Regions from separate parts of the Homo sapiens genome. Here regions 1, 2, 3, 5 and 6 are each linked to region 4. Evidence: promoter capture Hi-C in 16 types of primary human blood cells and fetal thymus (Javierre and others, 2016). All regions are on one chromosome and are shown on one strand. Each heading gives the region's core, a stretch centred on a gene start or on the middle of the fragment in contact. The rest is flanking DNA. Distances are from core to core; before and after follow the strand shown.

Evidence for each region. The method cuts DNA at HindIII sites, captures the fragments that hold promoters and counts their contacts. A CHiCAGO score of 5 or more calls a contact.
Region 1: a contact is called between the fragment with the promoter of OR7D2 here and the fragment with the promoter of ZNF699 in region 4, in 2 of 17 cell types (neutrophils and M0 macrophages). The highest score is 6.8, in neutrophils.
Region 2: a contact is called between a fragment that was not itself captured here and the fragment with the promoter of ZNF699 in region 4, in 4 of 17 cell types (activated CD4 T cells, non-activated CD4 T cells, naive CD8 T cells and 1 more). The highest score is 6.1, in activated CD4 T cells.
Region 3: a contact is called between a fragment that was not itself captured here and the fragment with the promoter of ZNF699 in region 4, in 1 of 17 cell types (activated CD4 T cells). The highest score is 5.7, in activated CD4 T cells.
Region 5: a fragment that was not itself captured here is called in contact with the fragment with the promoter of ZNF699 in region 4 in 1 of 17 cell types (total CD8 T cells); the score reaches 5.1 in total CD8 T cells.
Region 6: a contact is called between a fragment that was not itself captured here and the fragment with the promoter of ZNF699 in region 4, in 8 of 17 cell types (non-activated CD4 T cells, naive CD8 T cells, activated CD4 T cells and 5 more). The highest score is 6.5, in non-activated CD4 T cells.

Annotation. Positions count from the first base shown.
Region 1 is chr19:9,176,106-9,180,284 of GRCh38, reverse strand. It overlaps OR7D2 (olfactory receptor family 7 subfamily D member 2), which reads right to left and starts at 1,306. Exons shown (of 3, transcript NM_175883.4): 1 at 1,162-1,306. The HindIII fragment of the contact is 28,883 bases long and covers 1-4,179 here.
Region 2 is chr19:9,445,562-9,450,035 of GRCh38, reverse strand. The region is part of intron 1 of LOC105372269 (a long non-coding RNA gene); the gene reads right to left. It also overlaps a transcript of ZNF560 not described here. Among named protein-coding and RNA genes, the nearest start is that of ZNF266, 12 kb to the right of the region's middle. The HindIII fragment of the contact is 161 bases long and covers 2,451-2,611 here.
Region 3 is chr19:9,473,728-9,477,988 of GRCh38, reverse strand. ZNF560 (zinc finger protein 560) reads left to right here. Exons shown (of 10, transcript NM_152476.3): 3 at 2,620-2,705; 4 at 3,664-3,790. The coding sequence starts at 2,676. Among named protein-coding and RNA genes, the nearest start is that of ZNF560, 23 kb to the left of the region's middle. The HindIII fragment of the contact is 3,969 bases long and covers 1-3,542 here.
Region 4 is chr19:9,307,229-9,311,706 of GRCh38, reverse strand. ZNF699 (zinc finger protein 699) reads left to right here and starts at 1,869. Exons shown (of 6, transcript NM_198535.3): 1 at 1,869-2,357. RefSeq lists an enhancer at 1,770-1,889 and a silencer at 1,950-2,199. The HindIII fragment of the contact is 15,955 bases long and covers 1-4,478 here.
Region 5 is chr19:9,544,555-9,548,722 of GRCh38, reverse strand. No RefSeq gene overlaps it. Among named protein-coding and RNA genes, the nearest start is that of ZNF426-DT, 8.0 kb to the right of the region's middle. The HindIII fragment of the contact is 3,193 bases long and covers 611-3,803 here.
Region 6 is chr19:9,520,028-9,524,211 of GRCh38, reverse strand. ZNF426 (zinc finger protein 426) reads left to right here. Exons shown (of 8, transcript NM_024106.3): 8 at 1-989. It overlaps LOC105372268 (a long non-coding RNA gene), which reads left to right and starts at 3,372. Exons shown (of 3, transcript XR_001753862.2): 1 at 3,372-4,077. The HindIII fragment of the contact is 2,722 bases long and covers 230-2,951 here.

The sequences.
Region 1 (4,179 bases), core at 57-2,556, 130 kb after region 4:
GATTTTTAAAAAATTAGCTACTTGGGAGGCCAAGGCAGGAGGTTTGCTTGAGCCCAGAAAGACCCTGTCTCAAAAAAAAAAAAAGTCAACTTAAACACAATTAATTACAACTAATCAGTGTCATCAGCTTTCTTATGTATCTGCAAACAGCCATGAGAAAAAATAAGAGGAAAAAAAGTCCATTCACAATTGCAATGATAATATATGTAACATCTGGTGCAGAGTGAACATTTAATACATACTTGTTTTGTTTTGCTTTGCTTTGTTGATTTTTTTTTTTTTAGACGGAGTTTTGTTCTTGTTGCCCAGGCTGAAGTGCAATGGTGCAATCTCAGCTCACTGCAACCTCTGCCTCCCAGGTTCAAGAAATTCCCCTGCCTCAGCCTCCCAAATGGCTGGGACTACAGGCACACACCACCATGCCCGGCTAATTTTGTATTTTTAGTAGAGACAGGGTTTCACCATGTTGGCCAGGATGGTCTCGATCTCTTGACCTTGTGATCCACCCGCCTCGGCCTCCTAAAGTTCTGGGATTATAGGCATGAGCCACTGCACCCGGCCGAGAACTATTATATTATACTAGAGAAGAAAAAGGAAGGTGTTAGCAGGTAGACTGAAAGGAATCCACTCAAGGAAGTGCCAGTTCCTACTGACATTGAGAAAGTCACTAGTTTCCAGAATGAAAGGCCATCAGAGGTGGAGGTGACAGAAACAGTTGCAATAGAATCTTTTTTTTTTTTTGAGACAGCGTCTCACTCACTCTGTCACCCAGGCTGGAGTGCAGTGGCGTGATCTTGGCTCATGGCAACCTCTGTCTCCCGGGTTCAAGCCATTCTCCTGACTCAGGCTCCCGAGTAGCTGGGATTACAGGCATCCGCCACCATGCCCAGCTAATTTTTGTATTTTTAGATGAGATGGGGTTTCACCAAGTTGGCCAGGCTTGTCTTAGACTCCTGGCCTCAAGCGATCCGCCTGCCTCAGCCTCCCAAAAGTTGCAATGCCTTAAGACATCTATAACCAGGTAAGGGAATCCTAGAGACATTTTAAAAATCATGAGACATTATCAACCCTGTTACCTCCATCTCTGTTCCTCCCCACACTACTTTTTAAATCCTTTTCACACACGGTACTAACAAGGATAGTGTGAGTCACTCAACTGACATTGCTTGAAAAAAAAAAATGCTGGTATGACGTCTTCCTCCCCTGACTGTTGAATGCTGAAGACAGAATCTAGCAGGGAAAGGCGGGGAGATGGAACTTGTCATGAAGTCATCCTAACTCTCCTCTCTAAGATGCATGAGTGTGGCGTCAGGAAACTGTCCAGGTGAGGTGTTTTAGGGAAGTATTTATGGTTTCTCAAGCCCCAGGGAGCTGATGTCTCATCCTTCCTCATTAAATCCACTGTTCCAGTGATGTTCTACTCTCCAACCCATTCGGCTCCCTTGGGATCAAGAGCAAATGGCAGAAAGGTATGATGTGTTCTAATTCTGTTTCCAAGAAGGCAGCTCTGAAGCCAGGTGACTCTCTCTGCACCTCCCACCCTCTTGGGGCCTCTTTATTCTTGGAAGAGCTTTCATCACTATTGGTTTGGCTTTGAGATAAAGAGGTTTTCCCCTCTGGAATGTGTCGCAGAAGCTACAAAGACCCATCTCTCTGTAATCCCAGTGCCTAAGGGTCTCAAGGTAACACAGAAGAAAATAGAGATGCAACTATTTCCGTGAATCCCCTGTGATCGCGTTGGCTGCAGGGCGTTAAACAGGCTGTGGACATGTCGTAAGTCCTGTTTCAAGAGAGGGAGAGTCAACCATTGCGAGATACAGCAAGATTTCTCTTCAAACAGCCTGCTCAGCTTCTTATTCTCTAATTCCAAGTACCCCCCCCACACACTTTCTTCTCCTTTTCTTCTTTCTGATTTTGCTGCATGCCCAGATATGCCATAGCCCCAGCTCACATTTCTTTCCTTATTTAAGAATAGACTAGCTGTCTATTCCTCTGTAGAAGACCCCTTCCTCCTCTCCTCTGTCTCCCATCACACACCCACCTTATCTAAGACAGTTTAAATGTGTAACCAATCAAGTCTAGTTTAGATTGTGCTGTCCGACCCCAGCCAATGGGGAAAGGACACACAAAGTCAAGAGTCGCATTAAGAATAAAAGTTGCTACTCTCCTTTGTTCAGGGTGCTCTTGTAGCAGCCAACCCTACGAGAAGCACCCTTCTGCGCAGAAGTAAATTTGCTTTGCTGAGAAATCCTTTGTTTGAGTGCTCATTTTTCTTTATGACTCCAAGATTTATTTCTAACAACCATGTAAAACGATGCTATAAGGCTAAGCAAAATAAAGGCTGAAGAATATCCATCACATTTAATGGCATGGAAAACATTAGAAACAGCGATCTGGGTAGAGTGATGGGGAAAATTTCATTGATGGCAAGTTTGGGAGGAACTGAACAATAAGAAAAAAGTTTTTTTCAATTTTTAAAATGATGGTAAAATATACATAACATACAGTTCACCATCTTAACCATTTTAAGTGTACTATTCAGTGGCATTAAGTATATTCACAGCAGCCATCACTATCCTCCATATTCAGAATCTTCTCATCTCCCCAAGCTGAAACTCTGTCCCGTAACACTCATCCCTCATTCACCCTCCCCAGCCCCTAATGAACCACCATACCACTTTCTGTCTCTATAATTCTGACTGTGGTACCTACTTCATAGACGGAAGTATACACTGTTTGTCTTTTTGTGACTGACTTATTTCATTTAAGTGAAATATTGCCAAGGTTCATGTATGCTGTATATGTGTCCGAATGTTCTTTCTCTCTCTCTCTCCTCTCTCTTTTTTTTTCTTTCTTCTTTTTTGTCAGGGTCTTACTCTGTCACCTAGGCTGGAGTGCAGTGGCACAATCATAGCTCATTACAATCCCAAAGACCTGAGATCAAGCAATCCTCCCACATCAGTCTCCCAATTAGCTAATTTGTTTTTTATTTTTTGTTGTTTTTCTATTTATTATTATTATTATTTTTATATTATTATTTTGAGACAAAGCCTCACTCTTGTCGCCCAGGCTGGAATGCAACTTCCACCTCCGAGGTTCAAGCGATTCTCCTGCCTCAGCCTCCCGAGTAGCTGGGATTACACGTGTGCGCCACCATGTCCGGCTAATTTTTGTATTTTTAGTAGAGATGGGGTTTCACCATGTTGGCCGGGCTGGTCTCATATTCCTGGCCTTGAGTGATCCTCCCGCCTCAGCCTCCCAAAGTGTTGGGATTATAGGCATGAGGCACCATGCTCAGGAGAATGTTCTTTGTTAAAGCCACAAAATATTTCATTATATTATATGTATATACACACATTTTGTTTATCCATTCATCTGTCAATGACTGACAGATCTTTTAAAATTAAAATTAAATGTACAAAAATCTGTGTGGTTTGCAGGAATAAATTTCGAGTACTTCAAATATACAACAAAATGTGCTTGGCCGGGTACGGTGGCTCATGCCTGTAATCCCAGCACTTTGGGAGGCCAAGGTAGGTGGATCACCTGAGGTCAGGAGTTCGAGACCAGCCTGGCCAACATGGTGAAACCCTGTCTCTGCTAAAAATACAAAAAAAAAAAAAAAAAAAAATTAGCTGTGCGTGGTTGTGGGCGCCTGTAATCCCAGCTACTTGGGAAGCTAAGGCGAGAGAATTGCTTGAACCCAAGAGGTGGAGGTTGCAGTGAGCCGAGATTGCACCATTGCACTCCAGCCTGAGTAACAAAAGCGAACCCCGTCTAAAAAAAAAAGGGGTAAATATTTTTTCTGAAATATAATTTTTAATATAAAATTATTAACACATTATTTCATTTTTTTTCATTTGTTTGTTTTGGTGCAGTCTCACTCTGTCACCCAGGCTGGAGTGAGCGGCGCAATCTCAGCTCACTGTAACCTCTGCCTCTCGGGTTCAAGTGATTCTCCCACCTCAGCCTCCTGAGGCGTAGTAGCTGTGATTACAGGCATATGTGCCACCACACCCAGATAATTTTTGTATTTTTAGTAGAGATGGGGTTTCACCGTATTGGCCAGGCTAGTCTCAAACTCCTGGCCTCAAATGATCCACCCACCTTGGCCTCCCAAAGTGCTGGGATTACAGGCATGAGCCATGACGCCTGGCCATTTAGGGGTAATCTTTTTAA
Region 2 (4,474 bases), core at 1,282-3,781, 140 kb before region 4:
CGGGCACAAGCCATCGTGCCTGGCCTTTTTTCAGTTGTTTTTTTTTTTTTTTTTTTTTTTTGAGACAGAGTTTTGCTCTTGTTGTCCAAGCTGGAGTGCAGTGCAATGGCGCAATCTTGGCTCACTGCAACCTCCGCCTCCTGGGTTCAAGTGATTCTCCTGCCTCAGCCTCCCAAGTAACTGGGATTACAGGCACAGACTGGCACACCTGGCTAATTTTTGGACTTTGAGCAGAAACGAGGTTTCACCATGTTAGCCAGGATGGTCTCGAACTCCTCACCTCAGGTGATCCACCCACCTTGACTTTCCAAAGTGCTGGGATTACAGGCATGAGCCACTGTGCCCAGCCTTTTCAGTTCTTAAGTGGGGTGCTTCCAGCTTTTGCCCATTTAGTATGATGTTGGCTGCAGCTATGTCATAGATGGCTCTATTATTTTGAGGTATGTTCCTTTTTTGTTTTTTTCACTTCATATGGTGCTGACTTTCTAAGTTTTTGCTGTAGGTGTTTTAGCACTCTAAACATTTCTCTTAACCCTGCTTTAGCTGCATCCCAGAGATTTTGGTATCTTGTTTTTTTGCCTTCATTAATTTCAAAGAATTTTTAAATTTCCACCTTAATTTAGCTGTTTACCCAAAAGTCATTCAGAAGCAAGTTGTTCAATTTCCATGTAATTGTGTGATTTTGACAGATCTTGGTATTGATCTTTATTTTTATTTCTATTTCACTGTGGTCTGAGAGTATGGTTGGTATGATTTTCAAATTTTGAATGAATTTATTGAGACTTGCTTTATGGCTGAGAATGTGGTCTTTGAGTGTTCTGTGTGCAGACGAGAAGAATATGTATTTTGTGGTTGATGGGTAGAATGTTCTGTGGATATCTATTAAGTCCAATTGGTGAAGTTTCAAATTGAAGTCCAGAATTTGTTAGTTTTCTGCCTCAGTGATCTAACACTGCCAGTGGGGTGTTGAAGTCTGCCACTATTCTTGTTTGGCTGTCTGTTTGTAGGTCTAGAAGTACTTGTTTTATGAATGCGAATGCTCCAATGTTGAAGGTTAAGTCATCTTGTTGGATTGAACCCTTTATCATTATATAGTGCTCTTTGTCCTTTTTTCCTGTTGTTGGTTTAAAGTCTATTTTATCCAACAAAAGAATAATGATCCGTGCTCTTTTTTGTTTTGCATTTGCATGATAGCTCTTTCTCCCACTTTTTGAGTCCATGGGTGTCTCATATGTGTGAGATAGGTCTCAGAAGGATAGTACTTGTCGTTTTTATCCAGATTGCCACTCTGTCCCTTTTAAATGGGGTGGTAAGACCATTTACATTCAAGGCTAATATTGATATGTGAGGATCTGATCCTATTATGAAGCTGTTAGGTGGTTGTTTTATAGTTTCTATTTTGTTTTTGCTTCAAAAGGTCTGTGGGCTGCGTACTTAGGTTTGGTTGTTTTGTGGTAGCAGGTATCATTCTTTCGTCTTCATGTTTAGAACTCCGTTAAGGGGCCAAGTGAGGTGGCTCATGCTTGTAATCTCAGCACTTTGGGAGGCTGAGGAGGGTGGACACCTCAGGTCAGGAGTTCAAGACCAGCCTGACCAACATGGAGAAACCCTGTCTCCACTAAAAAAAAAAAAAAAAAAAAGCCAGGCATGGTGGTGCATGCCTGTAATCCCAGCTACTCCGGAGGCTGAGGCAGGAGAATCACTTGAACCCAGGAGGCAGAGGTTACCATGAGCCAAGATCGTGTCATTGCACTCCAGCCTGGGCAACAAGAGTGAAATGTCTGAAAAACAAACAAACAAACCCCCCGCCACACGCACACACAAAAACTCCATTAAGGATTTATTGTAAGGCTGGTCTACTGGTAATGAAATCCCTTAGTGATTGCTTGTCTCTAGAAATGTTTATTCTACTCTTATGAAGCTTAGTTTGGTCAGGTTTGAAATTCTTGGTTTGAGTTTCCTCTTCAAGAATGATGAAAATAGGCCCCCAGTCTTTTCTGGCTTGTAGGGTTTCTCCTGAGGAGTCTGCTATTAGCCTGATGACGAGATTCCCTTTGTACCTGATGTGCCATTTCCTCTAGCTGCCTTTAAGCTTTTTTCTCTAGCGTTGACCTTAGGCTGGTGACTGTATGTCTTCGTGGTGTTCATTTTATGTAGTATCTGGCAGGTGTTGTCTGGATTTCTTACATATGGATGGCTACCTCTCTAGCACAATTAGGGAAATTTTCTTAAATTATTCTCTCAAGTATGGTTTCCAGGTTGCTTACTTTTTCTCTTTCTCTCCCTGGAATGCCAGTTATTTGTAAATTTGATCACTTTACATCATCCCATATTTCTTGGGGACTTTGTTCCTTACATTTTTTTCTTTGTGTTTGTCTGACTGGGTTAGTTGAAAGACCAGTCTTCAAGCTCTGAAATTCTTCTGCTTGGTGTAGTCTGTTGATGAAGCTTTCAATTTTATTTTAAAATTCCTTAAGTGAGGTTTTCAGTTCCTGTAGCTTTGATTAATTACTTCTTAAGATGTTTATTTCTTATTTTGTTGATTGCTTTATGTTTGTGTTGATTTTCAATCTTGTCTTGGATCTAGCTGAGCTTCCCTGTAGGCCAAGCTTTGAATTCTCCACCTGTCATCTCTGTGCCTCCATTTTGGAAAGGGACCATTGCTGTAGAGTGAGAGTGACCCTTTGGTGGTGTCACAACATTCAGCTTTTTCATGGTGGCAGAATTCTTACAGTTTCCTTCTCATCTGGAGAGGGTTGGGGCTAAAATATAGAAGAATGTGCTTCTAATCTGTGTCAGATTGTTGGTAGAATTAATTTTGTTATGGCTGTAGAATTCCTTACAGCTTATTTTGTCAATGCCAGCAACAGAGAGTATGTCTATTTTTTTTTTTTTTTTTTTTGTGACGGAGTCTCGCTCTGTTGCCCTGGCTGGAATGCAGTGGCGTGATCTTGGCCCACTGCAACCTCCGCCTCCCAGGTTCAAGCGATTCTCCTGCCTCAGCCTCTCGAGTAGCTGGGACTATAGGCACGCGCCACCATGCCCAGCTAATTTTTGTATTTTTATCTAGAGATGGGGTTTCACCATATTGGCCAGGCTGGTCTCGAACTCCTGACCTTGTGATCTGCCCACCTCGGCCTCCCAAAGTGCAAGTGTGAGCCATGGCATCCAGCTGTCTGCTATTTTTTAGTCACTGATATCCAAATCCCCTTTGAAGGGACTCATCTAATTTTGTCAGGTGAATATCTCTAGATATCTCTATACTATAAGTAAATCAAGTTCTCCTAGGAATATTCTAGGAGATTATTCGCTTTGTGTAATGTGTAATCGACTGAATAGGGACTTGAATTGTATCTGGAAAATTCCTTCATTGTTGCCACATAATGTAATACAGTTGACTGACATTGCATCACTTTTGCTATATTTTCTTGATTAGGAGGAAACTGTTTATCCTACCAACACTCAACAGGAGGGGATTATACCAAGGCATACCAGAGTGCAGGACTCATAAGCACCATCTCAGAATTCTGCCTACTATACAGGTAAACCCCCTAACGTGGATGAATCTCACAAACATGATGTTGTGAAAGAAACCAGAAGTAACAAGAGAATGCATCCTATATTTTATGTGTGTGTGTGTGTGTGTGTGTGTGTGTGTGTGTGTGTGTGTATGACTTGGCAAAATTGGTTCTGGTTTAGGGAAAGGTGGAGTAAATGCAGTTATCCTGTCTGTCCCACTGAATGTCCCACCTGGACAGAATGCATCAGCTATTTGAAGAATCTGAAAAGTAAATAGCAGCAGGGAGATGGAAAAAAAAATCAGCGTTCAAAGTACCACCAAGCAGGCAGTAAGTTTACTAGTTTTACCCCTTCTGGTTTCATCTGGTCTGTACTCAGTGTGGCTGAAAAACCAGAGGCACACATCATGACCAACATGGAGAGTTCCAGAAGAAGCCCTCTGGTTCTGGTAATATCAACAAGGGGGTGGGAGGGGTGGTTTCTAATGCTCAGTGAGAAAGAGAGGGAGATTAATACCTCAGTTTGTTTTCTCCATTTACTTGGTTCCAGCCTCCAAGCAATCCTGTGGTGGCAATGAGACATACCATAGACTTTGAGAGCTGGAATGTGAGATAGATGACCTTCTGTGTAGTCTAGCCTCCAGGTAGAGACACAAAGCATACAACAAAATCTTTGAAAATAAAGCTCTCATTGAAACCACAACTCAGAGCGTTGACTAAAACTTGCAAGCTGAACCCAACTGGGTAATTGTCCAGATTAAAAAAAAAAATCAGCTGAGTGCAGTGGCTCATGCCTTTAATCCCTGCACTTTGGGAGGCCGAGGCGAGTGGACCACGAGGTCAAGAGATCGAGACCATCCTGGCCAACATGGTCAAACCCCGTCTCTACTAAAAATACAAAAATCAGCTGGGCGTGGCAGTACATGCCTGTAATCCCAGCTACTAAGGAGGCTGAG
Region 3 (4,261 bases), core at 309-2,808, 170 kb before region 4:
ATTGTTTCTTTAAGTATGTGTTCTCTTTCTTTCTTGTCTTCTTGTACTCCTGTAACTCAAAAATTTGCTCTTTTGATGATGTCCCTTGAATCTTGTAATTTTTCTTCATTTTTGTTTTTTCTCCTTTGTGTATTTCTAAGTAGTCTGTTTTCAAGTTCAAAGATTTTTTTCTTTTCCTTCTCTACTGTTGATGATCTCAATTGCGTTTTTCATTTGATTTGTAAGAACCATAAAGGAAGGAAGGGATAAAAATACAAGCAGAAATTTTAGGAAAAAGAGAACTCATGAATAATAATAAAAGGTGATTTTCTGAGAAGACCCATCAAATAGTCAATATAAGGGGCAGAGTCTGATTTGCGATTGCTGCTCTGCATGTTTTTTGTCCTCTTGCAGGAGCAATGGGCAGAACTCTGAACGCTAACTTCAGTGTTCTACTTGGAACCCTGTTGAAGCAACCAGAGTTGGAAATGAGTTCTGACTTGTTTGTAAAGGATGACATTCTTGTTCTAATTCTTTATAGTCAAAAGTAGAATAGCACATTTTAAGTAAGCCAGGTATCAATTCCCAGAGTCCTTTATATGGCAGTCATTATGGGGGAGTAATAACAACCACAGAGGATTAGACTTAGGGACAAACTTGACTGCATTCAAGTCCTGGTTCACCGCTTCCTAAGTAGATGATATTAGAAGAGTCATTTGTGTTTTCTGAATTTAGATTTTTTTCAGCACTAAATAGGGATATTGTTCAGATAAGTGAGCATATATATATGTATATATGTATATGCACATATGTATGTGTATATATATGTAATGTCTAACATATAACAGTCCCTAGTAAATGGCAGTTGGTGTTATTAATACTCATTTTATACAGAACATATACTATTTCTAGTGGGTTTTACACATATCACCAGCAGTAAAGATTTAATATATGGTATTTGATGACTGATAAGTAACGCTTGTTGATTAATGATTGATGTCTACATGAGTCCAGATACTCTATATAAAGAGGAATAGATTGCCAGTTATCCACTTAGATTTATAAGCTACCCTGATATGTCCTTGGAATCACAAAAAACTGTGTCCAGACATATTTCACTGTCAGCCTCACAGGATTTGCCCTATGGTAAGTTTTTCCAAAAATCTGCTTTAGGTAACCATATTAGTCTGTTCTCACTGCTATGAAAAAATACATAAGACTGGATAATTATAAAGAAAAGAGGTTTAATTAACTCACAGTTCCACATGACTGGGGAGGCCTCAGGAAACTTAACATCAATGGCAGAAGGCACCTCTTCACAGGGTGGCATCAATGGCAGAAGACACCTCTTCACAGGGTGGCAGGAGAGAGATTGGGTGCAAGCCGGGGAAATGCCACATACTTATAAAACCATCAGATTGGCCGGGCGCGGTGGCTCACATCTGTAATCCCAGCACTTTGGGAGGCCAAGGCAGGTGGATCACAAGGTCAGGAGTTCGAGACCAGCCTGACCAACTGGTGGAACCCTGTCTCTACTAAAAATACAAAAGTTAGCCAGGTCTGGTGGCACGTGCCTGTAATCCCAGCTACTCAGGAGGCTGAGGCAAGAGAATTGCTTGAACCCGGGAGGCAGAGGTTGCAGTGAGCCAAGATCTCGCCATTGCACTCCAGCCTGGGTGACAGAGCAAGACTCTGTTTCAAAAACAAAAACAAACAAAAAAAAACCCACCATCAGATCTTGTGAGACTCACTCATTATCACGAAAACAGCATGGGGGAAGCTGCCCCCATGATCCAATCACCTCCATCTGGTTCTGCCCTTGACATGTGGGGATTATCACAATTCAAGATGAGATTTGGGTGGGGACACAGAGCCACACCATATCAGTACCCCATGCAGAATATATAGTCCAGGGCTCTAGGCCTTAGTATTCACACTAGTAGTTCCTTTCTGAGTTGTTGAAGTGTGCCAGAGAGGCCTGTTGTGTAAGTTAGCCCCCTTAAGTGTGTTCTTTGAGAAGAGGTGCTGCATAATCTCATTTGTGAGTTATATCACCATGGGCACAAAAAGACTTACATTCCTCAGGTCTTAAGTTTCTTTACCTGGCTAGGTGCAGTGGCTCATGCCTGTAATCCCAGCACTTTGGGAGGCCAAGTTGGGCGGATCATGAGGTCAGGAGATGGAGAACATCCTGGGTAACACGGTGAAACCCCATCTCTACTAAAACTACAAAAAATTAGCCGGGCGTGGTGGCAGGTGCCTGTAGTCCCAGCTACTTAGGAGGCTGAGGCAGGAGAATGGCGTGAACCCAGGAGGCAGAGCTTGCAGTGAGCCGAGATCGTGCCACTGCACTCCAGCCTGGGCAACAGAGTGAAACTCCATCTCCAAAAAAAAAAAAAAAAGTTTCTTTACCTGTGCAATGAGGATATTATACTTTTACTTACGACAGCTTGGCCCACAATTCCTTTTTCTTGCTCTAGGTTAGACAGAAGTGCAGTGGCATTTTATGGATGTAATGTATATTTATGTGAGTTTATATGAATTATAAGAGAATTTCGAACCAGGTTGGAATAACTTCCATGCATGCGAATGTTGGAACTGTGATTATGTCTGGGCTCTTATGCCTTCTTTCTTTTCCAGGTCTTTCTAGGAACCCAATCTGCCTTCATGAAGAAAAGACAGAGGCAGAAAGGAAGATGGCTTACTGCCTGACAAATTGTTATCAGGTATGCAGAAAATGTATACTTCCACAAAATGACATACTTGCATCACCAGGTAAACACATTTCCTTCTAGGCAGATGTGTCTCCAGAGCTTCTTTAAGTAAATAAAGACTCACTCAAGCACTGAGTCACTTGTTGAATTTCCCCAGGGAGTGGAGGTTCTCATACTGATAATCCTTGAAAAGCATTTCAGCATTTCAGTAATTGTTAATTAATTTTGTCCCTTATGGTGCCAGATATATATTTCTTATTTTGCTGAGTGGTCTGGCAGATGGAAAGGAAGATGAAAGCATCCTTTACTCAAAGGCTAATCCTGGCCAGGTGCAGTGGCTCACACTTGTAATCTCAGCACTTTGGGAGGCTGAGAAGTGAGTGGCATTATCGCTTGATCTTAGGAATTTGAGACCAGCCTGGGCAACATACTGAGACATTGTCTCCACAAAAAAAAAAAAAAAAAAAAAAAATGCCAGGCATGGTGGTGCATGGCTGTAGTCCTAGCTACTCAGGAGGCTGAGGCAGGACGATCACTTGAGCCCAGTAAGTCAAGGCTGCAGTGAGCCATGATCACACCACTGCAGTCCAGCCTACGTGACAGAGCAAGACCCTGCTTCCCAAAAAAAAAGGCTAATCATTCATCGCTGTTTATCAAGTATATGATGCAGTGTACTCTGGGATATCTTTTAGTAGAGGGAAATAAGTTGAGAAAGCACTCACAGTCTGCTTGTGATGAGAAGTTCATGATTGAGATGTGCCATTAAAGCCATACAACTGGAATTGTTAAGTAGTGAAAGAGCAAGGATAGAGAGAGGAATACCTGAGATTTACCTGGGATTATTAAGCTTTGGGTAGATAATGAGAGACCTCACAACTCTTTATAGGCATTGGGGTCTGTTAACTGATTCTTCAGTGAACACTGGTTAATCTGTTACTTGGCTCAAATCAACATGTATGTGATGGTTTAGTACTCCGTGACCTTTGAGGATACAGCTGTGGACTTCACCCAGGAGGAGTGGATTTTACTGGACCCAGTTCAGAGAAACTTATACAGAGATGTGATGCTGGAGAATTATGAGAACGTGGCCAAAGTAGGTAAGACTGCCATCATTTTATGCAGCCTCTTAGGGAAGAGATATACATTGTGTACTTGCTGTGTTCCAGAATTGGTTTGTTCAACACTGAATTCACCAGAGACGTTGTCCCTGCCATAATAGGTCTTAATTACTGTGGTCGTTTTCAAAGTGTGGTCCAGTTTCGACAGCATCACTGTTACTCCCTTAGAAATGTACAGTCTTAGTCTCTGCCTTTGACCTACTGAATCAGAAACTCTCCACTTGGATTGTCATCTGTGTGTTAACTATCCTTCCACATCAATTTGATGCACTATAATATTAAGAATCACTGGTGTAGTTGTATTCTCCAAGTATACAAGGGTCTCTTTGTTTCACTTTTTTTCTTTTTTTTCTTCATTCAGGAGTTTGACAACATACCTTATTTCTGTGACTAAAAGGTTATTGCTTTGTAAATGTGCACATAAGCATGAATTTGCATTTCAGAGGTCAG
Region 4 (4,478 bases), core at 620-3,119:
CAACCTAGGGACCAATACAGAAAGGCCACCTGTGGTTCACTTATATAACACATCTCTACCTCATATTATACCAAAATACATTCCCTGAGCAGTAAAGAATTATACGTTTTAAAAAGCAGTACAATTTGGAAGTAAATTAGGAAGTATTTTTATATTTTAGAGTTTGGGGAGACATTTAAAAGCAAACTAGGAAACTCAGAAACCATTTTACTAAAAGTATAGATTCATTGGGGATATATAAAATTGAATATATATATTTTTGAGATGGAGTCTTTCTATTGTCGCCCAGGCTGGAGTGCAATGGCGCGATCTCAGCTCACTGCAACCTCTGCCTCCCAGGTTCAAGCGATTCTCCTTGCCTCAGCCTCCTGAGTAGCTGGGATTACAGGCACCCGCCACCATGCCCAGCTAATTTTTTGTATTTTTAGTAGAGATGGGGTTTCACCATGGTAGCCAGGCTGGTCTTGAACACCTGACCTCAGGTAATCCACCGGCCTCGGCCTCCCAAAGTGCTGGGATTACAGGCATGAGCCACTGCGCCTTGCCTAAAATTAAATATTTTATATGGATATCATATTATAAACTAAGAGGAGCAAAATTATGTTATCAACTCAATTGTTGCATAAACATTTGATAGTGTTCATAAAAAATTATTGATAAAATATCTTTATAAACCTGGTTTAAAAAGATTAACTTGATAAGAGGTGCAACCTGTTGTAAACAGCTTACTGAGGAACTTTGGTAATCATTACCGACCAAGACAAGAATGCTTAATTTCTTTCCGACTTATAGTTGAGGAAGCCCTAAACAAACAATAAGAAAAAGAAATGACTCTGGGTGTGGTGGCTTACACCTGTACCCCTAGCACTCTGGGAGGCTGAGGTGAGAGGATAGCTTGAGCTCAGGAGTTTGAGACCAGCTTCAGCAACATAGTGCGATCCCATCTCTACAAAAAAATAAAGAAAATAGCTGGGTGGGGTGGTACGCGACTGTATTCTCAGCTACTTGGGGGGCTGAGATGGGACCATCACTTGAGCTGGGGAAGTCAAGGCTGCAGTGAGCCATGGTCGCGCCACTGCACTCCAGTCTAGGCGATAGAATGAGACATTGCCTCACATAAAGAAATGAGTTATACACATTAAAACAATGAAAATATGCAGAGAAAATATTTATATTTGATGGTTCAAATAATAAACTGACAGCTATCAGAATTCAGCAAGTTTCCAGGAAAAAGGTTCTATTTAAATAATTATCAATGGCTTCCCTCTACAGGAGAAGTTATCAATACAACAATGAAAGGGAAAACTAAAAGGCCCAAAAGGACTGAGTGAGTGTCAAGGAGAGTCTGTTTCCTATTAGAGCTGCAAATATATGTGTCCTGTGTACAGGACTGTAGCAACGTGGAGGATAGGTAGAAACCCGATCGATGAGCATCCTGTATCCGTGGTAGCTGAGAACCTGGATGGGAAGCCCTAGCCTTAGCCCCATCCCTAGGCCTTGTCACTTAAGCCCCGCCCAGCCCTCGTCTCCGCCCCCTAGGAATTTCTACCAAGCCCCGCTCCCAATCTGGTTCCACCTTTAGCCCCGCCCCTTGGAGTATTTAAAAGGCCACGCCCCTAGGTCTAGCCCCAGTTCCGCCCCTCAGGCCGAGTCATGCAAGTCCAGTTCAGGGTTCTGTTTCTTCTCTGTTTACTCCAAATCATGAAGAAACTAGGATTTCTCATCCACTTGCGGCTGGAACCAGCCTTGGCGCTCCTTTGCATCCCGCTCCTACCTGCTCCACCCCCTTCACCTCAAGTCCCGCTTCCCAGGCCCCGCCCCATACGCCATTTGCAGCGCCGAAAGAGGAATCAGAAGTGTGCTTCTGCGCATGCGCGAGTCGACAGCCTTGTCACCCTACGCCTCCGCCCGCGTCTGAGGAACATTTTTGCCTCCGCCCGCTTCCTGTCCTGCCCTGCCCCGCCCCGCCCTGCCTGCCCCGGGTCGGGTCCGCGGGAGACCGAGGGCTGGGTTTGGGAATCGGCGGTCTAAGGGCTGCCTCCCCGCCACTCCTTGTCCGGACCCCGCGCCCGGGGCCTCCCGCCGCCGCGGCGCCTCCTCAGAGAGCCCGGGTCAGCTGCCCCTGTGGCCGCGGCTGGTCCCAAACTCACTGAATCGGGAACTCTGGTCTGGGTACAGAAATCGGGGTGATTCTGATGCAGGCGAGAGTTGGAGAACCAATGTCGTAGTTCATCAGCCTCCGAAAGCATCCTTTGCTCTCTTTCCAGAAAGGAAGAGCATCTCTGCCATTCGTGTCTCAAGGACAAGCGCTTCAGCCTCGTTCTCTGTGAGCTGATCTGTGGATCGCGGCGTGTCGGGTGAGCACGGGGTGACATTTGCCTCGGCTCGGTCCCCTCCTGTCCCCTCTTTATGCATTAGGTAGTGTTTGGGCCAAGCGCGGTGGTTCACGCCTGTAATCCCAGCACTTTGGGCGGCCGAGGCGGGCGGATCGCTTGAGCCCAGGAGTTTGAGGCCAGCCTGGGCAACATAGCAAGATCCCGTCTCTACCAAAAAAAAAAAAAAAAAAAAAAGTAAAATAAAAGGTGCTCTCCTGTGTTCCCAGCTACTCGGGAGGCAGAGGTTGCAGTGAGCTGAGATCGCATCACTGCACTCCAGCCTGGGCAACAGAGCGAGACACTGTCTCAAAAAAACAAAAAGATAGTATTTGGTCTCTGGATATTATATTCTGCCTGTGGACATCAGTTTGATACATTATATTCAAGTGAAAGTGAACTGATGCATTTTGTCATTAATGATGCATTTGAATCATTTGTCTATAGATTGGTTAAATTTCACACAGAAAATTTGGTCATCTGTCAGTTTCAATCTTTTCCCTTTTTATTCCTTGCAGTTTCCATTTCTTTTCATTTCTTTACTGCACTTGCCAGGACCTCCAGTACAATGTCCGACAGAATAGCATGTAATTTACATCCTGTCTTGTTTCTGATTCCAGAGGGAATTATTCTATCATTTCACCATTAAATAGGATGTTTGCTGTAGGTGTTTGTAGGTTTTTTTCCTTTCTTTATTCCTATTTCTTTTTAGAAAATAGGAGTCTCGCTCTGTTGCCCGGGCAGGTCTCGAACTCATGGGCTCTCCGCCTCCCAAAGTGCTGGAATTACAGGCATGAGCCACTGCACCCGGCCTGACCGTGTTTTAAACCGCTGATTTTTTTTTCTTTAATTACTGGGTGTAATCAGGTTTTAGATCACTGCTTGAAAGTTGTACTACTTTCTAGAAATTCATTAATTACCTGTGCATCTTCATATTTATTCCTTAAATTTTTTCTATATTCTCCTTATGATATCTGTAATTATGATTAATTCTTGTTCATTTTTTTTTTGTTGTTGTTGTTTATGCCCTGTTGCTCTTAAAATTGCTGAGTCTGTTGCTGGCTGCAGTGGCGCATATCTGTAGTCCCAGCTGGTGGGAAGCTAAGGCAGATGGATCGCTTGAGCCTAGGAAATGAGATCAACCTGGGAACATAAAGAGTCTGTCTTAAACAATAAATTAAATTAAAAAATTTTTTTAAAAAGCTGAGTTTGTCAGTTTCATTAGTTTTTCTTTTTGCAAAGGATGCTTTTTTAGCTTTTCTGATTTTGTTTACTATGTTTTAAAAAAGATTATTTTCTATTTTCTTTCTAAACTTTTATGCTGGTCTTTATTCAACTTTATATATCAATAGTCTAGCCTATTAATACCGATTTTTTTTTTTTTTTTTGAGACAGAGTCTCGCTGTGTCTCCCAGGCTGGAGTGCAGTGGCGTGATCTTGGCTCACTGCAACCTCTGCCTCCTGGGTTCAAACAATTCTCTGCCTCAGCCTCCCAAGTAGTGGCGATTACAGGCACCTGCCACCATGCCCAGCTAATTTTTTTGTATTTTTAGTAGAGGTGGGTTTCACCATCTTGGCCAGGCTGGTCTTGAACTCCTGACCTTGTGATCCACCCACCTTGGCCTCCCAAAGTGCTGGGATTACAGGTGTGAGCCACCGTGCCTGGCCAGTACTGATTTTTTTTCCTCTAGGAGTTGATAATGCTTATAAATATATAATAGATATACTAAACCCTCTGAAATTCCAGCATGATCTGAAATAGTTATTTTAATTTTCTGCTTCTACCCTGCCACATTACCTGTCCTGACTTGCTAAAGATAAATATGTTACGTGTCTCCTTATCCCTATAATGTGCTACATTTTTTATATAGCATGTATCTCTACCTGATGTATTTTGTTTAATGTCTTACCCAAAATATTATAACATTCATTTGCTTCAGGATTTTTCTTTTTTATTTTTCTATGCCTTATTCCTTGTGACTTCATGTAGTAGGGTCAGGATAAATGTCACCTAAATAAACATGAAACGAAGGAGGTAAGGGCTATAAGGGAAGCATCGTTGCCCAAGACATAGGCCTTAGGAAAAGGAGCTCAAAGATAACATAT
Region 5 (4,168 bases), core at 958-3,457, 240 kb before region 4:
GCTTTTATTCCCTTATCTGGCCCCACCCACATCCTGCTGATTGGTGCATTTTACAGAGAGCTGATTGGTCCTTTTTGACAGGGTACTGATTGGTGCGTTTACAATCCCTGAGCTAGACACAGAGTGCTGATTCGTGCATTTACAATCCTCTAGCTAGACATAAAAGTTCTCCAAGTCCTCACCAGATTAGCTAGATACAGAGTGCTGATTGGTGTGTTTACAAACCTTGAGCTAGACACAGGGTGTTGACTGGTGCATTTACAAACCTTGAGCTAGACACAGAGTGCTGGTTGGTGTATTTACAATCCTTTAGCTAGACATAAAGGTTCTCCAAGCCCCACCAGATTAGCTAGACACAGAGCACTGATTGGTGCGTTTACAAACCTTAAGCTAGACACAGAGTGCTGATTGGTGCATTTACGGTCTTCTAGCTAGACATAAAAGTTCTCCAAGTCCCCACCCGACACAGGAGCCCAGCTGGTTTGCCTAGTGGATCCTGCTGCAGGCGGAGCTGCCTGCCAGTCCCATGCCATGCCTGCACTCCACAGCCCTTGGGCAGTCAATGGGACTGGGCACCATGGAGCAGGGGGTGGCGCCCGTTGGGGAAGCTTGGGCCATGTGGGAGCCCACCACAGGGGGGCTCAGGCCTGGTGGGCTGCAGGTCCTGAGCCCTGCCCTGTGGGGAGGCGGCTGAGGCATGGCAAGAATTCGAGCATGGCATGGGTGGGCTGGCAGTGCTGGGGGACACGGCGCACTCTCCGCAGCTGCTGGCCCAGGTGCTAAGCCCCTCACTGCCCAGGGCTGGTGGTGCCAGCCGACTGCTCCAAGTGCAGGGCCCACCTGGAACTTGCGCTGGCCCGTGAGCGCCGAGCACAGCCCCGGTTCCCACCCATGCCTCTCCCTCCTCACCTCCCTGCAAGCAGAGGGAGCCGGCTCCAGCCTTGGCCAGCCCAGAGAGGGGCTCCCACAGTGCAGTGGTGGGTGGAAGTTCTCCTCAAGTGTGGCCAGGTGGACACCAAGGCTGAGGAGGTGCTGAGAGTGAGTGAGGGCCGCCAGCATGTTGTCACCTCTCACAGCAAGGGCAGCAGCCGTTAGAAGTTGTAATGGGGATTGATAGGGCAACTGGGTAGAGGGAGAGGTTCAGTATTCATGGTGTATTAGAAAACTCATAGTGTCTACAAGCAACCTTTCATTGCTATTCATGGGGTTGTGTATAAGTAAACAAGAAGGGGGGCTGGGAGGAGAGGCTGAAGAACAAGGGGAAGGTAGCCAAGGATGGAGTGAAGTGCAGGACAAATGTCTTCCTAAATAATAGTAACTGCTAATGTTTTTAAGTTTGCCAGTATTGATAGAGGGCTTATCTATAATGTGGAGCTAAAAAGCCCCATTGGTTTTGGTAATATGTGTAGTTGGGCTTTGGAGATGAAGAGTGAAGAAGCATAGAGAAGGTGAAATGTTACCTAGGGGAATTCCAGTCAGTCTTTGCCGAGAGATGCACAAAGGAGTGACAACAGGGATAGTAGTTTATGTTGTGAGGGGTTCAAATATGGGTGGAGTAGAATTAATATAAGGATAAAGGTTTTTTTTTTTTTTTGAGACAGAGTCTTGCTCTGTCACCCAGGCTGGAGTGCAGTGGCACGATCTCGGCTCACTGCAAGCTCTGCCTCCTGGGTTCACGTGATTCTCCTGCCTCAGCCTCCTGAGTACCTGGGACTACAGGTGCCTGCAACCATGCCCAGCTAATTTTTTGTATTTTTAGTAGAGACGAGTTTCACCGTGTTAGCCAGGATGGTTTCAATCAAGGATAAAGATTTTTTAAGTAGATGCGGAGAAGAGCATCAGCTTGCTGATATGAAATGTCTGAGGTTTTGCTAGACCTGTCTAGAAAGTAAAGAAGTTCTTCAGAAGGGTAAAGATGAGGGCTGTTAAAGGAGGTTCAGAGATGTAGGGAGACAGGAGATGTTGCCCAGTCGGTATGTAAGGTGGGGACAGCTGTGTAAGAGCAGGAAAAAAGGGAAATGCAAAGCCAGCAATTGTTCACTAAGGAGGGATTAGAAAGAGTGAGGAGGGAGTGAGCGAGATTGATAGTATGTTGGAGGTAATTAGGGAGGGGTAGAGGATGGCAGGAGAATGGGAATGAGGAAAAGTAAAGAAAAGGACTTCATCAGGGTGAAAGAATTGGAGTGTGCCTTGCCAGCAAAGGTCATCTATCCACTCCAAGGGGGAGTTAAGAGTGGTGGTTAGGGGCTAAGACCAGGAGATATCAGCTATGATGGTTTGGAGAAAAAGTGTAAACTGGCAGTGTAGACAAGGGCAGGACATTTATGGGTAGGTGAGAATGAAGAGTAGGAGTATGACTAGACAGAAGATAGCAGGGATGAAAAGTTTTGGGGTACAGTCCAAGTAGTGGGGGTGACTGTGTGAAGCCCTGTTGTAAAGATCAGGGTAAGGAAGAATAGACCTAACAAAATGAAAGGGTGTATTAGGCTCACAAGTGTCACTACTGTTCTTCAGAAATGCGGGTGAGTTTAAGGGAAGTAGGGGTGAGTACTTGCAACTTCCAGGAGGAAGAGGAGAGATCAGGCTGTCTGTCCGATGGGCACAGCTTTATCCTGGAATGGTGAACCCAATGGGCAGGGTCCTGCAGATGGATGGCCATTGGAGTACTATAGATGACTAAGTGGGGTCCAGTCCACCGAGTTTGTAGAGTTTGAGGGGTCAGATTCTTAAGAACTGATCGTCCAGCTAGGGTGTCCTCATATGGCTGGGAATCTGGAGTAGGCAAAAGAAGATTAGCAGCCTGGTAAATTTCCTGTCTAGCCTGCTGGAGGACTGGAAGGTAGTCCCCCAGAGGGCTGGTGTCTGGAATGAGGTTGGGGCCCAGCAAGAAGGTATGTCCATATAAAAGTTCAAATGGACTGTACCCTGTAGCATCCCGAGGACAGGCTCAAATTTTGAGGAGGGCAGGTGGTAAAAATACTGTCCAGTCCTTTTTAAGTTGAAGGCTGAGTTTGGTGAGGTGTGTTTTTAAAAGACCATTATTCCTTTCTACCTTTCCAGAAGACTGAGGGCGGTAGGGGGCATGAAGTTTCCATTGAATGCCCAAGGCCTGAGAGACTGCTTGAGTGACTTGACTAATGAAGGCCAGTCTGTTGTCAGACTGTATAGAGGTAGTAAGTCTAAATCGAGAAATTATGTCTGACAGAAGGGAGGAGATGACCACGTTGGCCTTCTCAGGCCTGAGAGAAAGGCCTCTACCCATCCAGTGAAAGTGGCTACCAGACCAAGAATATTTTAGTTTCCTGACTCAGGGCATGTGGATAAAGTCAATTTGCCAGTCCTGGGCATGGGTGAACCCCTGAGCTTGATGTGTAGGAAAGGGAGGGGGCCTGAGAAATCCCTGAGGAGTGGTAGAATAGCAAATGGAACACTGAGAAGTGATTTCCTTGAGGATAGATTTCCATGATGGAAAGGAAATGAGAGGGTCTAAGAGGTGGGCTAGTGGCTTGTAACCCACATGGAAGAGGTCACGAAAGGAAGATAGAATGAAATGAGGCTGTGAGGGTGGAAGGAGGAATTTTCCTTGATCCAAGAACCATTTGTCTTGTTTGGGAAGAGATTGATAGGTGGAAGTTTCAGTGGGAGAGTAGGTGGGAGTGACTGATGAGAAGGAGAAAAACTGGCCATGAGGGACAGAAGTTGGAAGGCTAGCTGCTTCTTTAACTCCCTTATCAGCATAATTGTTGCCTTGAGCAATGGGATCTGATGTCCTTTGATGGCCCTTGCAGTGAATGAAACAAGCTTCCTTGGAAGTACAGCAGCTTTAAGAAGAGTTTTTATTGAGGAGGCATTAATGATGGAAGACCCTTGTGTAGTAAGGAAACCTCTTTCTGCCCATATAACAGGATGGTGGTGAAGGATGTGGAAGGCATACTTGGAATCAGTATAGATATTGACACGTATTCCCTTTGCAAGAGTGAAGGCTCGAGTTAAGGCAATGAGTTCAGCTTGTTGAGAGGCAGTGGAAGGGGGAAGGGCCATAGCCTCAATGATAGATGTGGAAGACACTATAGCATAGCCTGCCTTTGCCAGTGATTGGTGATTGGGCCTGGAAGAACTACCATCAATAAACCAAGTGTGGTCTGGGTGGGGAACAGGAAACAGGGAA
Region 6 (4,184 bases), core at 341-2,840, 210 kb before region 4:
CCCACTAGGAGAAAACCTATGTTTATACGGAATGTGGGAAAATCTTCACTTATTTCTCAAGCCTTAAAGTGTATGTCAGGATTCCCAGTGGAGAGAAGCCATATTGATGTAAGGAATGTGGGAAAGCCCTTGCCTGCCACTTAGTCCTTGATAAACATTTTAGAACACAAACTGGAGAGAAACTATGAATTCAAGGATTGTGGGAAAACCCTTTTATGTTCCACAAGCTTTAATATTCATATGCAATGTATGCTGGAGAATAACTTGATGACTATAATAAGTGGAATGGCCTAGGTCAGGGATCCCCAAACCCCTGGGCCATGGACTGGTACTGGTCTGTGGCCTGCTAGGATCCAGGGTGCACAGCAGGAGGTGAATGTAGGATGAGCAAACATTACTGCCTGAGCTCAACTTTCTGTCAGATCAGCAGTGGCATTAGATTCTCATAGGAGCATGAACTTTATTGTGAACTGCACATGCAAGGGATCTAGGTTGCACACTCCTTATGAGAATCTAATGCCTGATGATCTGAACTGGAACAGTTTAATCCCCAACTCCAGTCCGTGGGAAAAATGTCTTCCACGAAACTGGTCCCTGGTGCCAAAAAGTTAGGGGACCACTGATTTAGATTATGTCACATGTCCCATCCACTCATTAACATTAAGGCTTTCATCCCTGGGACCTCAAGATAATGGTGGTATTTAGAGATGTGGTTTTTTAAAGAGGTGATTTTAAAATGAGGCAGTTAGAATGGGGCCCTCATTCAATATGACTGGTTTCCTTATAAGAAGTGAAAGAGATACCAGGGTAGCAGGCACAGAATTTTATGTGAAGTGACCGGAAATGGTTACCTTCAAGGCAAAGAGAGATTCCTGGAGGAGATCCTTCTTTTAAGGCTCATTATAGAGGAAATCATCCTTATCTACACTTTGATCCTGGACTTCCAGCCTCAAAAATTATGAGCAAATAAATTTCTGTTGTTTAAGCCATTCAATGTGTGGGGTTCCTTTTTTTGGTCAACTCTATCAAAATAATACAGTAAAGAATGTGAGAAAACCTTTAGATATTCCATAGTCTTTAATATTCATGTTCAGAGTTACAATGGAAAGAAACCTTATGAATGTAAGGAATGAAATGTTTTCTGTCTGTGTAGTGTGTGTGTGTGTGTGTGTGTGTGTGTGTGTGTGTGTGTGAGACACAGTCTCCCTCTGTTGCCCAGGCTTGAGTACAATGGCATGATCTTGGCTCACTGCAACCTCTGCCTCCTGGGTTCAAGCATTTCTCCTCTCTCAGCCTCTGGAGTAGCTAGGATTACAGGCACGTACCACCATGCTCAGCTAATTTTTGTATTTTTAGTAGAGCTGGGGTTTCATCATGTTGGTCAGGGTGGTCTCGAACTCATGGTCTGAAGTGATCTGCCCACCTTGGCTTCCCAAAGTGCTGGGATTACAGGCATGAGCCACCACACCTGGCCTCTTTTCAATCTTTGGTCTGCTAAATGTAAGAAATCACACAGGAGACCATTTCAGTGAATCTAAGGCATGTGAAAAACCATTTTATTATCCCTTAGAGCATCCGAACTCATCTGGTGAAAGAACTTATAAAACTCACATGAGAAAAAAGAATACAAAGAAGAGGTTTCTTGTAGTATGAAATCAAAGAACGTGATCTTGCACAAAATGGAAGAGCTTAGAGTGGATTGAAGCCCCATCATAAGGAATGTGGGCCGGGCATAGTGGCTCACACCTGTAATCCCAGCACTCTGGAAGGCTGAAGCGGGCAGATCACTTGAGCCCAGGAGTTCGAGACCAGCCTGGGCAACATGGTGAAACCTCATCTCTACAAAAGTACAAAAATTAGCTGGTCATGGTAGTGTGCGTCTGTAGTCCCAGCTACTGAGGAGGCTGAGGTGGGAAGATCACTTGAGCCCAAGAGGTGGAGGTTGCAGTGAGCCGAGATTGTGCCAGTGCACTCCAGCCTGGGTAACAGAATGAGACCCTGTCTCAAGAAAAAGTTGACTGAAAAATAAGAGAAACAAAAGGAACGTGGCAGGGCTTTTAAAAACTTCATACCTTATAGAAGGTGTAGAAACTCAGTGGAGAGAAACCTGCTTGTAAATCAAGTGGAATCACCTTTGTTCATTCATAAGGCTTCTTTTGTGCATTGTAAATTGCTGTGAAGCCATGGGAAGGGGAAAAGTGGGATACAACCCTTAGATATTTCACACGCCATAATATCTGCCTGACGGAGCCACCAAGCATGTCCCTTCTTTAAAAGGTCAGGTAGGGGGCCTGGCATGGTGGCTCACACCTCTAATCCCAGCACTTTGGGAGGCCAAGGCGGGTGGATCACTGGAGGTCAGGAGCTCAAGTCCAGCCTGGTCAATATGGTGAAACCCCATCTCTACTAAAAATACAAAATTAGCCAGGTGTTGTGGTGCATGCCAGTAATCCCAGCTACTTGGGAGGCCAAGACAGGAATTGAAGACCAGCCTGGCCAACATGGCAAAACCCCATCTCTACTAAAAATAGAAAAATTAGCCAGGCATGATGGTGGGGATGTGTAATCCCAGCTACTCAGGACACTGAGGCAGGAAAGTTGTTTAAACCCAGGAGGTGGAGGTTGCAGTGAGCCAAGATTGCGCCACTGCACTCCAGCCTGGGCGACGAGCGAAGCTCCATCTCAAAAAAAAAAAAAAAAAAAAAGAAGAAGGTGAGGTAGGGGCTGGGCCTAGTGGCTCATGCCTGTAATCTCCGCACTTTGGGAGGCCAAGACAGGAGGATCACCTGAACCCAGGAGTTCACAACCAGCCTGGGGCAACATAGCAAGACTCTGCCTCTTAAAAAAAAAAAAAAGATCAGATAGGGACGTAGTACTAATCTCTTTCTGAAACTGAATGCTTGACATCTCCAAAGAATTCAGTGACCAGCAAGGGAATGTCCCAGTAAGCTTCGCTGGTCACATAGAAATGGAAACGGAATGAGTGCAGCAGCCTGACATTAGCAGCCTTGTGGCTTTACCTATTGGCAGCTACATCTTTTGGAAAAACTTTATCATAATTTTATCATGCATTTCTCCACCTGAAGCTAAGCTGCTGGCTCAAGGGGACCCTTATTTTCTGGCTGGGCCTCTTCAGTCATGATTGGAATAAGCTGAAAGCTGAATGTGTCCACTGGGTTTCTCCAGGCATCCAGCCTTGGAGTGCAATGGTGGGATCTTGGCTCACCGCAACCTCCACCTCCCAGGTTCAAGCGATTCTCCTGCCTCAGCCTCCTGAGTAGGATTACAGGCATGCGCCACCACGCCCGGCTAATTTTTTTGTATTTTTAGTAGAGGCGGGGTTTCTCCATGTTGGTCAGGCTGGTCTCGAACTCCCAACCTCAGGTGATCCACCCACCTCAGCCTCCCAAAGTGCTGGGATTACAGGCATGACCCACCCTGCCCAGCTCTGGAAGCCTTTCTGTATCACTCTTGTTGCAAATAAGATAATTCATTTTGGGGATACATTCAAATAAATGACATGAAGATGAAATTGTCTTTCTGTTTGTCCTATTCTCAGATAAGACGTGTGGCCCCTTAGTTTTCTGTGGTGGTTTTATGTGATTAAATTTGTTTTTGAAAGAGTTTCTGAATATATTACTTGTTCTGTTATGCACATTTTATAAATTAGCACTTTCTTCATGACTGCAGTTGTAAACACTTTCTCATTTGCATTATATGTTCATTTAACAGTGAGCGTGTGTTTAACTGCCAAGATAAGTTTTTTTGTTTTTGTTTTTTCTTTTTTTTTCCATAAAATCCAGATTCTGCAAAACTTGGGGATTTTTTGGTTTTGCTTTGAGATGGAGTCTCCCTCTGTCACTCAGGCTGGAGTCCAGGGGTGCAACCTCTGCTCACTGCAACCTCTGCCACCTCACCTGGCTGTCATGAGGGATTATTAATAGATGCTTTTAGATAGTCCTCTCTAGTGTCATTGATAATTGGTCATACCATGGGTCTACATGGAATTTCTTTTCTTTCCTTTTTTTTTTTTTAAGGTGTGCACTTTCATTCAACTGCTGTCAAGTCAGTGTACAGGTAAGCCCTGGCTGCCTCCATTCCTCCACCCACCCCTAGGGAGACCAACAGCCTTTATACATCTCAAGTTGGGGGACAAAAATGGGGGGACATGATGGCTGATCATT